Linked DNA regions of Homo sapiens: regions 1 and 3 are each linked to region 2. The links are contacts of gene promoters, found by promoter capture Hi-C in blood cells and fetal thymus (Javierre and others, 2016). All regions are on one chromosome and are shown on one strand. Each heading gives the region's core, a stretch centred on a gene start or on the middle of the fragment in contact. The rest is flanking DNA. Distances are from core to core; before and after follow the strand shown.

Region 1 (2,700 bases), core at 88-2,587, 250 kb after region 2:
TTATAAAAGGTTTATGAAAATGTTATTTTGTGTGGTCAAAACTGAGATTGAGTGGATTTATTAGGTTTCATTAAAATTAGCTTTAGTATTGATGAAACAAAAGTAAAATTTGTTTTTCCCTTTTAAATAAGATTTTCTTGCATCAATAAGATAATAAAAGGCTGTTCACCTTTTGCACAAAGTACAAAAGAAATTTTAAAAGGGAAGAGAGAGACAGACTCTGTATGCCTCATGCTGTCTTTCTTAGTTCTTTTGATTACTTGAAAAACTAAGTATCTATTAAAGAGTAAAGATTTTTGCTTATTGAATTTTTTTTTTTTTTTTTTTTTGAGACAGTCTTGCTCTGTCACCCAGGCTGGAGTACAATGATGTGATCTCGGCTCACTGCAACCTCCGCCTCCTGTGTTCAAGCAGCTCTCTTGCCTCAGACTATTGAGTAGCTGGGGTTACAGGCACCCGCCACTATACCCATCCAATTTTTGTATTTTTAGTAGTGATGGGGTTTCACCATATTGGTCAGGCTGGTCTCGAACTCCTGACCTCAGGTGATCCATCCGCCTTGGCCTCCCAAAGTGCTGGTATTACAGGTGTGAGCCACCGCGCCTGGCCCTATTCCTTGATTATATACTAAACAAGGGGTGGATTATTTATGAGTTTTCTAGAAAAGGGGTAGGCAATTCCTGGAACTGAGGTTCCTCCTCCTTTTAGACATATAGGGTAACTTGCTGATGTTGCTATGGCATTTTTAAACTGTCATGAACTGGTGGGAGTGTCTGTTAGCATGCTAATGCATTATAATTAGCATATAATGAGCAAGGAGGACGACCAGAGGTCACTTTCATCGCCATCTTGGTTTTGGTGGGTTTTGGCCAGCTTCTTTACCATTTGCTGTTTTATCAGCAAGGTCTTTGTGACCTGTATCTTGTGCTGACCTCCTATCTCATCCTGTCACTAGGAATGTCTCACCTCCTGGGAATGCAGTCCAGTAGGTCTCAGCCTTATTTTACCCAGCCTATATTCAAGATGAAGTTGCTCTGGTTCAAATGCCTCTGACACTTATATTTGGACAAACTTTGTGCATGCAAACTACAAACAAAAAAAAATCTGTCAGATTGCCACAAATCTTCTTAACTGACTGCCTTCTAGACTCTAAAGGAACCAGCTTATAGACTACTGCAGACATTTGTTTTTCTTATTTCCATAGAAATGCCTCTAATTAAGGATCTTTTTGCCAAATCATGTATGGAGGCCTACCTTTGAGATCCCATCTGCAATGCCAACCATTTATTGAACTGGTCTATTCCCAAGAGTGCGAGGCTGGTTGAATGGGACCCGTTGCCATTCAGCTACTAACTTGATTTTTCTGTCCACAGCTACTCACAAAATTTTTAATATATAAACCTTCTAGGAAAGTTTCAGACAGGGAATGTTGGGTCTCAGAAAACAATACCCCAATATAAGGTGCATGGACATGCCAAATAAAGAAGCAGCTTCAGGAGCTCTCTATGCTCCCCTCCTGCCCCAAGCCTCTGTCTGTCCAAAGCATAGGATGAGGCTTTTCTCTAATACCCCTTTATCTGCATAAGGACGACCCAACTGGGAGAGCACAACTGTCCTCTAACCTCTCCCTGATATTTCATTATCTATTTCAGAAAAGAAGCCTGAGGAATGCAACCACACCTGGACAGACTTTTTCACAAAATAATGTCTGCCTCTTAGGCTCATTCAATTTCAAAGGGAATTATTTACAAGTTAATTTCTGTCTTTTGAGTCCAGTCATTCTCCCTAATACCGATTTATTATCCCTCAAAAAAATTGCCACATTTTCCCCATCTCTTCTTCCTTTATGAAGAAGGGTATATATGCATCTGGACCTCATTGGGTTATTGGGTAATACTCTTGTGATTATCCTGTGCTTATGCATGTTAAAATAAATTTGTATGCATTTTATCTCCAATTAATCTGCCTTTTGTCAGTTCATCTTTGCAAACCTTCAGAGAGTGAAGGGGAAAGATTTTCTCTTTATCCTAAACCTTCAAAGAAATGGGTGGTCTGTGCCTAAGTTGTTTGTTGCTTGGAAATTGCTTTTCCACCTTCTTCCAAGCCTGTTGGGTCCTTTTCTTTCTTTCCTTTCTGCTTTGTTTTCTTTAGTTTGGGCCTCAGGTGCAGAAGCCTAAATTACTTATAGTTCTGCCTTATTCCGGGCCTTTTCTAGTCTTTGCATAAACCTTTCTTGCTTTTTCATTTTCTTATTCCCTTTTATCCTCATTTTCCATTCTCTACTTACAATCAACAAATGTGTTATTGTGTTTGATGTGCAACTTATTTTTGTATGTGTTTTTATAAAGCATATATTGTGTGCATGAAATTTTACATGCACACAAAATTTACAAAATTCTATTGGCTAAAAGTCTCTTTTTTCCATCCACTAAGCACCATACTTTTAAAGATCCACAGACGCTGCTATGTGTATGTCTCACGCGTCCGTGTGAAGAGGCCATCAAACAGGCTTTGTGTGAGCAACAAGGCTGTTTATTTCACCTGGGTGCAGGCGGGCTGAGTCTGAAAAGAGAGTCAGCAAAGGGTGGTGGGCTTATCATTAGTTCTTATAGGTTTTGGGATAGGCGGTGGAGTTAGGAGCAATGTTTTGCAGGCAGGAAGTGGATCTCACAAAGTACATTCTCAAGGGTGGGGAGAATT
Region 2 (2,700 bases), core at 96-2,595:
ATAGTACTAAACAGGCTCTGACCTTATTCTGACCCTATACTCTCCACTTTTGCCAAGAACACTCGCTTAATGAATTCTCCCTGCAAACTGGTTAAAACTGGAACTGGGCCTTGAACCACTCCAAACCACCAAGTTATGCCCAAACTAAAAACCCTCCAAGGACTTCCAATTACACCACTGGAAACAGAATCCAATATCTTTACCCTGGCCCTAAAGTTCTGCTTGTGCCTTCTGCCCAACTCTCCATCCTCACACTAGGCCCTCCCCTGCCCGCACCCCGGGAGATCCACCTCTCACAGATCGGCTTCTCGCTGTGTCTGCCTCTGCGGATGTTCTGTTCCGTGCTGAGCATTCTAGGTTAGGGCCCCTTTACAAGCCCTCATTCACTTTGTCGCGTGATAAACGATTCAATGGTTCTCCCTCTGGCAGGGCCCTATTAAAGATTTCGTGGGCCCTAAGGCACTTTCGTCTTCGTGGACCCCTTCCTCCATTAAAAAAAGATTAAAAGAAGTTAATGGATTTTGTAGGCCCTAAAAATCTCATTTCCCCCTCCTGATGTGAGAAAAAAATCAAAACACTTTCTTTGACTTCATGGGTTCACTTTAAACGAAATGAAAACATTCTCGTGGCCGGGCACGGTGGCTCACGCCTGTAATCGCAGCACTTTAGGAGGCCGAGGCGGGCGGATCACGAGGTCAGGAGTTCGAGAGCAGCCTGGCCAACATAGGGAAACCATGTCTCTACTAAAAATATAAAAAAATTAGCCAGGCGTGGTGGCGGGAGCCTGTAATTCCAGCTTACTCGAGAAGCTGAGGCGGAGAATCACTTGAACCCGGGAGGCGGAGGTTGCAGTGAGCCGAGATCACGCCATTGCACTCCAGCTTGGGCAACAAGGGTGAAACTCCGTCTCAAAAACAAAGCAAAACCAGAAGAAAAAAAATTCTCGTGGCTCCCTGAAGCCTCCGTGGTCCCTCGGCATGGCGCCTACCGTGCCTGGCGGATCAGCAGCCCGGCCCTCGGGCCTGGGGGCCCCGCGGAGGAAGCTCCGGGCCCAGACTCCGCGCAGGCCTGGCCGCCCAGAACAGTATGCGGAGGGATGACTCCGACAGCGATTTCGGAGCCTCTCTCGGCGTCAGTCTTGCGCCGGCACCCGCCACGGCCAGCGCAACCAACACCTGCCTGAGGACTGGCCCGAGCTCGGCCCACGCCCAGCCCAGCCTGCGAAGTGGTGCCGGCTGCTCTCGGGCTGCCCTCCCTCCCCGAGGCGTGGAGAACCGTACCTGTCTTCGGAAGACGGAGGCCCCCTCACCTGGTCCTCCCGGCTCTCAGCGTGCGCCCGCGCGTTCGGAGGCGCCCCCCTCAGGCCGGCGCGGCTGGGCGGGAGGCTCACTGCGGGCAAGGCGGGGCCTGGCTGCCTCAGGGTGCGCTTCAGGTGGCGCTTCAGGAAAACGGTCTCCAAGTCCCTAGATACCCTGAGAACAGTCCTTCTTTGTCCCTTAGGTAGAATTTTGTCTATTTGTTGGAAATGCTGTGCTAAACCTGACATTTTTCTTTTTCTACCCCTTCCCATGAAACATGCCAGTAGCTCCCCCACCGACCGTTTTCTTGGTTTTAACTTTTCCCTTCCACATCATTTCCTTCAGCCAGTCGCTATTTTGTTCACTAAACATCTGTGGTGGGCACGTTATGTGCCACGCATTGTGCTAGGATTGGAGTACAGTGGATGTACAGACAATGGTCACTGCCCTCATGGAAGTTATAGCTGCCTTCACAAAGTTCTTTTAAGTCTTTTCAAACTCCTGTATTCCAAGAGGGTCTGTCGCTCTCTTCATACTCATTCTCGCTTACTTGAGGTTGATTCCCATAGTCCCTTTGACGAACTCCAGATGGGGTAGGAGCGTCCTGGTCCTTAACAGTTGGTTGGTCTGGGTCTTCAACTCTGGTTAAAAAGGAATTCTCTGAATTAGTCCACAGGAGAGGGAAAGATAATGCTAGTTCCAAGCTAGAAATGTACAAGCAGTTTTCCTTGTTTTCTTTATTATTATTATTGTTATTTTCTCAGTTCATTGTCTAGATGCAGGTTGGAGGTGGGGTGGGGCAATATTTCAATGAGTGGCACAGGATAGGTTAGATGTTTCAACAGGAAAAGAGTTGCCTGCTTGTATTCTAGTCCCACTAAACCATTTTGCTCCTATCAACTGTTCCTCAGGTAAGAACAGAACTATTTAACCTATGTCCTTTTTTAAACACTATAATCTGATATTCAATAGAGTTCCTGTGTTTCAGTTTAAAGGGTAGCTTCTCAACAGCTCTTTCCCCCCATATAGTCCAAATTAGCCTTTCTGTCTCTAATCTCCAGATTATCGTTTCCACTGATGTTAGAATTGTCCTTGTAAAAATATTTTGATCATATCATTCTTTGTCTTAAAAATGGCTTATGTTTCCTTTTCGGTTAGAGGGTCCATTATAACTGACCCCACCTACCTTACTAGGCTCAACCCCAGCATTACCTGTCTTACTCCCCTTTGTGTTGCTATACCAGAATACCACAGAACAACTAACTTGTAAATAAAGGAAATGTATTCTTAAATTCTGGAGGGTAGGAATTCCAAGGTTGAGAATCCCACATCTAGTGAGGGCATTTTTTCTGTGTCATCCCATGGCAGAAGGCAGAAGGGCAAGGGGTACAAAAGAGCAAGA
Region 3 (2,840 bases), core at 120-2,619, 230 kb after region 2:
CTGCTGCTTTGGGGGTTTTTAGATTATCAAATGGATAAATAATCTTAGCCTTGGCACAAGAAAAGCTCTTTAGTTCTTAACCTGAAGAAGACTTGAATGTGATTTCCAAGTAAGAAAGTTGGAATGATGTTGACATGGGAGTGGAATGGCTCAGAGAGAGAATGAATTAAAAGTCTTATCACAGGAGGAGTTATGGGGAGGGAGGGGGGAGAGAGAGAGAAGGAGGAGGAGGAGGAGGAGGAGTGATATATAGCTGGTGTTAGGAAAGTCGCCCTCTGTGATGATGAAGGTCAGAGCCCTCCCATTTGTCTCCACAGGACTTTGATATCGACATTGTGGCTGTGGTGAATGACACAGTTGGGACCATGATGACCTGTGGTTATGATGACCACAACTGTGAGATTGGTCTCATTGTGGGTGAGTGAACACCGTGCATGAAGGGCCCGTGCTGGCCAAGGGATGGGGGTGTGGGCTGGAAAGGGAGAAGGGGCCCATGGGCTGGGTGTTCCTTTGTAGTTCATATTAGAAGATAATGGTCCAGTCACTTTGGAGAGCCGAGCAGGGACTCATGGAGTTGGGGGTGGCAGAAGATTAGACCATGTATTGTGATGCCCCCAGAGTCTGCAGTGAGAAATCCCAGCCATCCTGGCCGGGCAGTCTCGGGACAGTAGTATAAGAGGGAAGAGGGGTGGGAAGGGGCCGGAGCAGGCGTGTGCATAGCCGTCCCTTGTTTTGGCAGGCACGGGCAGCAACGCCTGCTACATGGAAGAGATGCGCCACATCGACATGGTGGAAGGCGATGAGGGGCGGATGTGTATCAATATGGAGTGGGGGGCCTTCGGGGACGATGGCTCGCTCAACGACATTCGCACTGAGTTTGACCAGGAGATTGACATGGGCTCACTGAACCCGGGAAAGCAACTGTGAGTAGGCCCTTCCTGTGCGAGTGGGCTTGGCGGGGGCCTGGAGCTGAGTCTGGGGCTGGTCGGGGCCAGGGGGTTGTTTCTTTACAGTCTTACATCCCCAAAGCTTGCCAAGGTGGCCACTGGTCATAGGAATGTCTGTGACTATAAATTGCTGAGAGGATCTAAAACAGAGAGCAAGCGGATATACCAGATTATAGCTAATAATGTGTTTCCTTCACAGGAGTCATTTTGGAAGGTTCTATTCTGAGTGTAAGTGGGTGGCCCTGCTCTTTCTTTCCACCTTCTATTTGTAAATTGTCCATGGGAACTGTGAGCCACCTAAGGAAAGTTGTGTTGAGGTGGCCAAGATTGGGGTCTCTGAAAGCTCCTTTCATAGCTCCAACTCCATCACCACCCAGAGGACAGGCTGACAGCTGGCTGCTCATTGCTGCTCCCTGGGGTCCCAGGGCCTCCTGCTGCAGCTGCAGGCAGACCCATGGCCCCTGGAGACATTGGCTGAGGAGCTTCCTTGGCCTCCTTCACTTGGACCTTGGCCCAACTATGTCCTGGGATGGATTGGAGGAGGGGCGTCTAGCATTTTGGATCCTGAATATTGTATTCTCCAGCCTGGCCTGCCTTTGTTTTTAGTTGCTTTTATCTCTTACAAAACCTTATTTCACCCTCACAAACATTTGCCAAATGTGCGTGTGAAAGATCTTGAAACAGGGATTGCTTCAAGGTCTGAAGCAGTTGCAAAATATTTTGAGCAATACAGATCATCTCTGGTCTTGTGACTGTTGTAGAAAAGCTTTTCGTGCAGATCTCTACTTGGACAGGAAAATTGAACCCTATAAATCAAGTCAGTGGTGGGTAACCCAGGAGAGTCCTTGCTTTCGTTTTTTTTTTTTTTTTTTTGAGACAGAGTCTCTCTCTGTTGCCCAGGCTGGTGTGCAATGGCGCAATCTTGGCTCACCGCAATCTCTGCCTCCCGGGTTCAAGCGATTCTCCTACCTCAGCTTCCTGAGTAGCTGGGATTACAGGCGCCTGCCACCACGCCCAGCTAATTTTTGTATTTTTATTAGAGACAGGGTTTCACCATGCTGGCCAGACTGGTCTCGAACTCCCGACCTCAGGCGGTCCGCCCTCCTCGGCCTCCCAAAGTGCTGGGATTACAGGCGTGAGCCACCGCGCCCGGCCTGAGAGTCCTTGCTTTGTCAAAGCATGGTTTATTTATCTAAGTCACAAGCTTGTTTCACATGTTGAAATGAGTCCTTTACTTGAAATTTCTGAGGATCATACTGGTTGTGTCTGCCATGGCTGATGAGAGGTTTATGAGCTGAAAAGTCACTCAGTGCCTGCCTCCATGAATGAGGCACACCCAAGTCATTCCGAGGAACTAAAGGCCCTTTCAAATGTCAAAAGACAAATTTGCCAGCCAGACCATGACAGCACACCCCCGGCTTATCCTTTGACACCCACCAAATTGTCATCCATGGTAGCCCTGAAGTCACTACAGACAATTTTTGTCCCCTCTAATATATTTCCAAGTAAGTATCTTCCAAATGTTGACTGGAACAAAGTGTTTTTAAAAACTAGAATAAAAACTTAGCAACACGGAGTTCCTTACTGTTGAAGCCAGGCTCCCATCCACGCTGGTTTCCTTCTCCTGAAGCTCTGCCTGTGTGGGTGCACTAACATTTAAAATGCGCGCTGTCATCTTCACAATTTTGCCAGCTCTCAGTTAGCCCTGATGCTGCTGTACTCGGCCTTGGGTCTTGAGCAGGCTGCTTCCTGGAGGCCTGGGTTTCCTCTCGGAAAGGTAACCTTGGAATCCCTTCCACATCTCAGTCCTGGGCCTCCTCCTCGCTGGGGCTCATCCTAGTTAGTGGCAGCAGGCCCATGTGCCTCCTCTAAGACACAGGTTCTTTCTCAAAC

What was found. Contacts are between HindIII fragments. The CHiCAGO score rates a contact against its expected background, and 5 or more counts as called.
Region 1: a fragment that was not itself captured here is called in contact with the fragment with the promoter of M1AP in region 2 in 1 of 17 cell types (neutrophils); the score reaches 6.7 in neutrophils.
Region 3: a fragment that was not itself captured here is called in contact with the fragment with the promoter of M1AP in region 2 in 4 of 17 cell types (naive CD8 T cells, naive CD4 T cells, total CD8 T cells and 1 more); the score reaches 6.2 in naive CD8 T cells.

What each region holds. Positions count from the first base shown.
Region 1 is chr2:74,899,458-74,902,157 of GRCh38, forward strand. No RefSeq gene overlaps it. Among named protein-coding and RNA genes, the nearest start is that of LINC01291, 8.2 kb to the right of the region's middle. The HindIII fragment of the contact is 4,070 bases long and covers 1-2,700 here.
Region 2 is chr2:74,646,985-74,649,684 of GRCh38, forward strand. It overlaps M1AP (meiosis 1 associated protein), which reads right to left and starts at 1,346. Exons shown (of 11, transcript NM_001321739.2): 1 at 1,281-1,346. The HindIII fragment of the contact is 10,572 bases long and covers 1-2,700 here.
Region 3 is chr2:74,873,527-74,876,366 of GRCh38, forward strand. It overlaps HK2 (hexokinase 2), which reads left to right. Exons shown (of 18, transcript NM_000189.5): 6 at 318-417; 7 at 740-923. Among named protein-coding and RNA genes, the nearest start is that of LINC01291, 34 kb to the right of the region's middle. The HindIII fragment of the contact is 684 bases long and covers 1,028-1,711 here.